Linked DNA regions of Homo sapiens: region 2 is linked to region 1. The links are contacts of gene promoters, found by promoter capture Hi-C in blood cells and fetal thymus (Javierre and others, 2016). All regions are on one chromosome and are shown on one strand. The core of a region is centred on a gene start or on the middle of the fragment in contact, and the rest is flanking DNA. Distances in the headings are between cores, read along the strand shown. Region 1 holds the start of NEXMIF (neurite extension and migration factor). Region 2 has its middle 70 kb from the start of PBDC1.

Evidence for each region. Contacts are between HindIII fragments. The CHiCAGO score rates a contact against its expected background, and 5 or more counts as called.
Region 2: a contact is called between a fragment that was not itself captured here and the fragment with the promoter of NEXMIF in region 1, in 1 of 17 cell types (naive CD8 T cells). The highest score is 6.0, in naive CD8 T cells.

The regions. Positions count from the first base shown.
Region 1 is chrX:74,923,365-74,927,387 of GRCh38, forward strand. NEXMIF (neurite extension and migration factor) reads right to left here and starts at 2,088. Exons shown (of 4, transcript NM_001008537.3): 1 at 1,519-2,088. RefSeq lists a silencer at 967-1,126. The HindIII fragment of the contact is 8,655 bases long and covers 573-4,023 here.
Region 2 is chrX:76,241,504-76,245,526 of GRCh38, forward strand. It overlaps the pseudogene RNU6-867P. Among named protein-coding and RNA genes, the nearest start is that of PBDC1, 70 kb to the left of the region's middle. The HindIII fragment of the contact is 4,264 bases long and covers 1-3,978 here.

The DNA.
Region 1 (4,023 bases), core at 838-3,337:
TTAATTATATTCACAGCCACATATTTCACTGGGATAGAGTTTCAGACACTCAGCCAGTTTTATTTGATTAGCCGGTTTCCCAGTTAATATGTAAAATGACAGTTACTTAGGACTTTTTTGTTCCCTTCTAAAAATATTTTTTCAATAAGTGTAAATTCTCCTCAGCCATAAGAACGTCACTGCTGTAAATAAAACGTTTGGTCATATGTTACCTCATGTGTAAAAGATGTAAGGGAGATTCACCCCTCCAAAACACAAATGGTCGTAAGGAGTTCAGAGAAGACCATTACAGCACCTTTTCTCACCAAGCAAAATATTCCAGGAACTCCTCCACCAAAAACAACCAAGGATATATTCAAATCCCGGGATTAAAGTGCTTTAGACATTTTTAAAAACAGCCCTGCCAGCCCTACAACACAAATCATGTCTTTTCAGATAACAGTCTAGAAAATGCAACATTAGAAAAAGGCCACATATCTAAATGTAGTGCTGTGCACAGCATTCAACAATATGCTGGGAGCCAAGATCCAGAAGCAAAATATGAGACCCACTTATTCCAAAATGCAACCAGAAGCTTGATAAAAATCAAGAGTGCTGTTGTCGAAATGGGGATGCCAATTTTTTTTTAACTTCGAAAAAGACAGAAAACCTTGCGCGGGTGATTCGGTCCCTCACGAATCAGACAGACAGAAGCAGTCATGCTGAAATCGCTGAATTCCTCAGCGGAACGGCGCCAACTCAGCAGCGCGGTTTCCACACTTTCCCGGAGCGGGACTCCGCTCCCCGCGCCGGCTCACGGCCTTCCCGCCCTACAGGGTGTACAAGACGCGAGCCGACGTGTGCTGCGGGGCGCGGCAGAGAGAAGCGCCAGAAGCCACACAGAAAAGCGTCAATTCGACCGCCACCGAGAGCGCGAAGGGGCCACAAGCCAATTTCCGCAAAGGAGATGAGCTGGGCGAGGCTCGGTCTGGCCTCCAACTTAAACCTGTCCGCAGCCTCGGCCGAGTGGCGCGTGTCCTGGGGGCGCTCTGTGGTCGCCACGGCCGCCCGGCTTCGCACCTTTGCGGCTTTGGTCCGAGCGCCCGGCCTCGGCCGCCGCGTGGGTTTTCCCGCTCTCGCCGAAGCGTGCCATGCCCATGCCCCATTCCCTGGCCAGGCTCTACCCTGCACCAGTCCGAAAGGAGGCGGCACTCTGCCGAGCTGCGTGCGTGTAAGCGCGGCGGCTCCGGTCCGCTCGCTTCCCCTCCCCCCGCAACCCCCTTCCTACGGCGCAAGCACAGAGGCCTTTCCTAGATTGCAGTGCCTGTCAGGGCGAGCCGGGATCTCTCGCCCTAGCGGCCTCGCTCCCTCATACACAGACACACACATTCGCATACAGACGTCCTCCGTTCCGTTTTCCCTTCCTTCTCGTCTAGCTCGACTTACCCCAGTTCATTCCACCCCCTGCGGCCGCCACCCCGAGCCAGCCGGGGAGCCGGCGAGAAGGCCAGGAAGCTGTATGGCAGCGCTCCTACTCACCTCACAGGCCGACTCCCGAGGCGCACGTCGCTGGCGGGCTCAGGCAGCAGGCGCTGTAGCTAGCGCGGTCGCAGTCAAGGCTGGGCTGTCGCCGTCGCCGCAGCTGTTCGAGCTGCCTTAGCCGCCACCGCCGCTGCTACTGCTGCCGCCGCCGCCGCCGCCTCTGCCTCAGCTCCATACGCTGGGCCCGCCAGGTGGACGCGCCTCTCTCCTCGCTCGCTCCCTCAGGCTCCGCCGCCGCCGCGCTAGATGGAGTCAGAGCTGTCGGGCTCTGGCCCTGAAACTCAGAGCCTCCGCGGCTGCCCGGCTGCTCCAAGGGTCCGTGCTTCGCTTACACTGTCGCTCGCCCCGGCTGGAGCTACCTAGCGAGCGGGCTGCGCGCTCGGCGCCTGGAGCCCGCTCTGTGCGGTGGCTGCGGCCGTCCGCGAGAGGGAGAGAGGAGGGCGGCTGCTACTGTCGCTATAGCTGTTAAAGCTATTGCTAAATGCTGCTACTGCCGCTAATGCTACTGCTGTGGCGGCGGTGGTGGCGGCGGCGGCTGCTGCTGCTGCTGCTGATGCTACTGGTTTTCCTTCCCAGGTTCTTCCCCTGCCTCGTCCCCCCTCCTCCCCCTTCCTCCTCCTCCTCCTACTCCTCCTCCTCCTTCTCTTCCTCCTCCCTCTTCTCCTCCCTCTGCCGCTTTTCTCAGAGCCTCTGCAGGCACTGCCTGGTCCCCTCTTCTCCCGGAGCTGTCTCTGCCCATTCAGAAAGGTGCCCAGAGTGGGGCCGCCTCTGCTGCCACCATCGCTGTTGCCCCTGCCATTGTTTCCTCCAACACGGCTGTTCTTGCTGGACGCCTTCCCCCCTCTACCCTTCTTCCCCACCACAGCTCTCCCTTTCCCTCCCGCTCTCCTTACCCTCTCTATGGTCCCTTCCTTATGTGCCCCCCCAACTCTGTCCGTCTGTCCTTCCCTCCCCTCGGGCGCCCGGGAGCGCGCACTGCGCGGCCACCTGTCATAAAGGGCGCGCACCCCCCTTCCCCATTCCCACCCCGCCCCCCACTCGCGTTCCTGCTGCCCTTCCAGTCCACTACGCCAGTGGTGCGTTCTTCCCCTGGCAGACACGCAACCGGACACCACTCTCCCATGCCTTTTAGGGCAGTTGTGTGTGCGGAGAGGGGCACTCTGAAGTTTGGGGAAGAATATTTGAATGGTTTCATCCACCAAGCATCTAACCATTCAACCTTTACCTACTCTTAACTTAAGGGCCTGGGCCCCCAGGAAGGTGGGTCCTTTTTGAAGGGTTGGATGAAGGCAGACAATTGGGGAGTGACGTTTGGGGAATAAAGGAAAGAAGGGAAGCTGAATATGGCCAGGAAGGAAAACAGATCTGCCTGATGGCTGTCATTGAAAAATCTCTTAGGTGGTCATTTTCCTTCAGACGTCCTGGGAACTCAACAGGAAACAGCAAAACGATTGGAGAGCAACTCAGGAGGGACCATTTAGTACTTCTGGAGTCCTGGGTGCAAGGTTGAGGCCTGAGCCTCGGGAGATTTGTCACCACTAGGAGCCAAGGCAAGAGATGAAAAGGTTGGTACTAGAACAGAAGGGGTAAAAGTAGCTACTTTGTGTGCACTTGCTCCAACATCATTGCCAAAGCACAGCTTCTCCAGTCAGGCAGGGCCTCATTTCAGATTTCTTTGCTGCCACAGCTACAGCGTCATTTTGCTACGAGGGCTCAGGCTTTGAGATCTGATGTGTGCAACTTCTCACCATCACCTGTCACACAATCCCTCCCCAGAAACAGTGCAGAGGCGGGGGTATATTTTCTTTTCCCTGGCAAAGTACAGGAGATAAATGTTCCAGATATCCCATTGACAATAAGGTCTGGGTCACTTTACCAAGTTTGAGGCGCTCTACCATGGGTCTTTCATTCCTGGACAATAAACTGTCTGTATGGCTTTTACAACTCCCCATCTCTGTGCCTTTGTTTCTGTCATCCCACTTGCTTGAAACACTCTTGTTATTTCTCCCTCTCATTTTATATCTATGAAACTCATCCATAAATAATAGCTCATCCTGAAATAATTATACTTATTGGGTCCTTACTATGTGCCAGACACTGTGCTAAGCAATTTACATGAATTATTTAATCTTCACAACAAACACAATTTTACTATCTCCATTTTACAAATGAGAAAATCGAGTCACAAGGAAGTTAGGTATATGTGTCCTGAGGATAGGGATGATATGTTATTTATCTTGCATTTGTGAGACACTGTGCAAATATATTTGCATCTTTCAGGCACTGGAATAAATAAGAAGACAAAATTTGGCCTCTGTTCTCAAAAGCAAAAACAAACAAACAAAAAAGGTTAAACATGTAAAATGCCACCCATCTATTGGCTGGATCTCAATATCCAGAATGAATTGCTCTTTTTCCGTTGTCGGAAAGCACATTGTTTTCACCTGTATTAACTACATATGCTATTCTTCCTTTATAAAGTTAGTTGCTTATTTGTTACCA
Region 2 (4,023 bases), core at 597-3,096, 1.3 Mb after region 1:
CCATAAATGGTGCTGGGAAAACTGGATATCTATGTGCAGAAGAATTAAAATAGACCCCTATCTCTTGACATATGTGAAAATCAAGCAAAATATTATTAGACCTGATATTTGATATATCAAAAATCAAAATATTATTAGACCTGATATTTGATAGCACGACAGTGTGACTATAGTCAATAATTATGTAATTGTCCATTTAAAAATAACTAAAGGAGTACAATTGGATTGTTTGCAACACAGAGGATAAATATTTGAGGTGATGAATATCTCATTTAGCGGGAAGTGATTATTACTTTTTTCATGCCTATATCCAAGCATCCTATGTACCCTATAAATATATACACCAATATTTACCCACAAAACTTAAAAAATTAAAAAGAAGAAATAACATTATAAACATTTTCAAATCTGGGGAAATATATAGATGTAACTGAACAATCTCCTATTATGTTCAATCCAAACAAGACTACACCAATCATGTTAACAATCATACTATCAGAAATCAAATGCGAGAGAGAATCATGAAAGGAGGAATAGTTAAAAAATCACACAGAAAGAAATGTTAATATGCTGATTTCTGCACAGAAACCTTAAAAGTCAGTAGCGTTGGATGATACATTCATGATACTGAAAGAAAACCCTGCCAACCAGGAATAATTTACCCCAAAATGCTGTTCCCCACAGGTGAAGAAGAGATAAAGACTTTCTGAGACCAGACATGGTGGCTCATACCTATCATCACAGCACTTTAGGAAGCTGAAGTGGGTGAATTGCTTAAGCCCAGAAATTCAAGACCAGCCTTGGCAACATGACAAAACCCTGTCTTCACAAAAGGAAAACACAGAAAAATTTACTGCACATGGTGGAGCATGATTGTAGTCTCAGCTATTCAGGATGCTGAGGTGGGAAGATCACCTGAGCCTGGGAGGTTAATGATGCAGTAAGCTGTGATTGCACCACTACACTCCAGCCTGGATGACAGAGTGAGACCTTGTTCAAAAAAAAAAAAATCTCTGAGACAAAAGCCTAGTTAGGTCATTCCCACTATACCTGCCTTGGAGGAAATGCTAAAGGGAGTTCTTCAGGCTGAAAGAAATAGAAACTACTGAGAAACTTTAAAGCATGAAAGTATAAGACTCATGGGTAAAAGTAAGTATATAATCAAATTCAGAATACTCTAATACTGCAATGGTCTGTGTAAATCACTTATATATTTAGTGTGAAGGTTAAAAATACACAATTATTAGAAAAATAATAGCTACAGTAATTTGTAAGAGATACACAATATAGATAGAAATTGTGACATCAAAAAGAAAACGTGAAAGGAGAGTAAAAGTGTAGTTTTGTATGCTAGTCAAATTCAGTTCTCATTAGCTGAAAATGATCTGTCATAGTTATAAATTATTTTATGTTTGCCTCATTGTAACTGCAAAGCAAAATCTATAAGAAGTACAAAAAAGAGAGAAATTAAGGTATTAAAGCGCTACTCCAGAAAATTATCTAATCACAAAGGAAGACAAGAGTACAGAAACAAAATAGCGAAAGATTTATAAAACAACCAGAAAATATTTAATAAAATGGTAGTAGTAAGTCCTTATTATCAATAATTAACTTGAGTTTAAATGGATTAAGTTCTTCAGTCAAAAGATACATGGTGGCTGAATGGATTAAAGAAGAAAATAAGAATGCTGCCTACAACAAACTTGCTTCATCTTTAAGGATACACATGTACTGAAAGTGAAGGAATGGAAAACGATTCCATGCAAATCGAAACAAAAAGAGATCAAAGATAGCTATACCCACATCAAATAAAATAGACTTTAAGTAAAAAAGATTAAAAAGATACAAAGTACATCATTATATAATGACATAATTCATATAATTCATCAAGAAAATGTAACAATTGTAAATATGTATGCCCACAACATCAGAGAACCAAAATATATAAAGCTGACAGTAGATCTAAAGGATGAAACAGGCTGCAATAAAATAATAGTAGGGGACTTCAATACCCCACTTTTAAGAGATGGACAGATAGTGGCCAGGTGGAGTGGCTCACACCTGTAATCGCAGCACTTTGGGAGGCCAGTGTGAGCAGATCACCTGAAGTCAGGAGTTCTAGACCAGCCTGGCCAACATGTAAAAACCCCATTTCTCCCAAAAAATACAAAAAAAAAAAAAACAAAAACTAGCTGGGCATGGTGGCACATGCCTGTAGTCCCAGCTACTCAGGAGGCTGAGGCACAAGAATTGCTTGAACCCGGGAGGCAGAGGTTGCAGTGAGCCAAGATCATGTCACAGTACTCCAGCCTAGGTGACAGAGCGAGACTCTGTCTCAAAAAACAAACAAACAAAAAACAAAAAAGAAAAAGAAACAAAATGGATGGAAAAACCAAACAGAGAAATCAATATGTAGTCAGCACGCTTGAACTACTCTTTAGACCAAATGAATCTAACAGATATATACAGAAAATTCTATCCAGTTGAAGAATAAAACACATTATTTTCAAATATACATAAAACATTCTCCAGGATAAATGTTAAATTATTTATTAGTCCACAAAATAATTTTTTTTCTCTTATCTTTTTTTTTTTTTTTTTTTTTGAGACTGAGTCTTGCTCTGTTGCCCAGTCTGGAGTGCAGTGGCGTGATCTCTGCCTACTGCAAGCTCCACCTCCGGGGTTCACGCCATTCTCCTGCCTCAGCCTCCTGAGTAGCTGGGACTACAGGCGCCCGCCACCATGCCCGGCTAATTTTTTGTGTTTTTATTAGAGATGGGGTTTCACCGTGTTAGCCAGGATGGTCTCGATCTCCTGACTTCGTGATCCGCCCGCCTCGGCATCCCAAAGTGCTGGGATTACAGGCCCGAGCCACCGCGCCCGGCAACGTGCTTCCGAACAACCGATCTATCAAGGTAGAAATTAAAAGAGAAACTTAAAAATATCTTGAATCGGCGGGGTGCGGTGGCTCACGCCTGTAATCCCAGCACTTGGGAAGGCCGAGGCGGGCAGATTACAAGGTCAGGAGATCGAGACCATCCTGGCTAACACGGTGAAACCCCGTCTCTACTAAAAATACAAAAAATTAGCCGGGCGTGGTGGCAGGCGCCTGTAGTCCCAGCTACTCGGGAGGCTGAAGCGGGAGAATGGCGTGAACCTGGGAGGCGGAGCTTGCAGTGAGCAGAGATCGCGCCACTGCACTCCAGCCTGGGTGACAGAGCGAGACTCTGTCTCAGGATATATATGTATATATATATATCCTGAGACAAAGAAAACTTAAAGGGCCATATACCAAAACTTTCAAAAGGCTGCAAAAGGTGTTCTAAGAGAATTTATAGCAATAAATTTCTACATTAAAAGATAGCTTAAATAAACCAGCTAACATTACATGTGAAGGAACTAGAAACAGAAGAAAAAACTACTGTCAAAGTTAGTAGAAGGAAGGAAATAAAGAATACAGCAGAGTGCTCACTTCAGCAGCACATATACTAAAATAGAAACGATAAAGAGAACGTTAGCATGAGCCCTGTGCAAGCATGACATGCAAATTTTTGAAGTGTTCCATATTTTAAAAAAGAACAGAGCAGAAATAAATTAGAGGCTGGAGAAAATATAAAAGATGAACAAAATTAAGAGTTTGTTTTTTGAAAAGACAAACAAAATCAACAAACATTTAGCTAGACTAAGAAAAAATGAGAGAAGATTCAAATAAAATCAGAAAAGAAAGAGGAGACATTACAGTGGATCCCACAGCAATACAAAGAATCATAAGAGAATATTGTGAATAATTTTACATCAACAAATTGAATAATCTAGAAGAAATGTGTAAATTCCTAGAAACATACAGCCTACCAAGACTGAATCATGAAGAAAAAGAAAACCCAAATAGAGCAATAATGAGTAAGGGGATTGAATTGATTGTAGTTTCCAATTAATATAACTCCCTTATATTAGGGTTTGGAGGTAAGGGTATACATAAGCTTGGAGGTGAATATAAAGCTGATGGAATGATGGAATAATTAC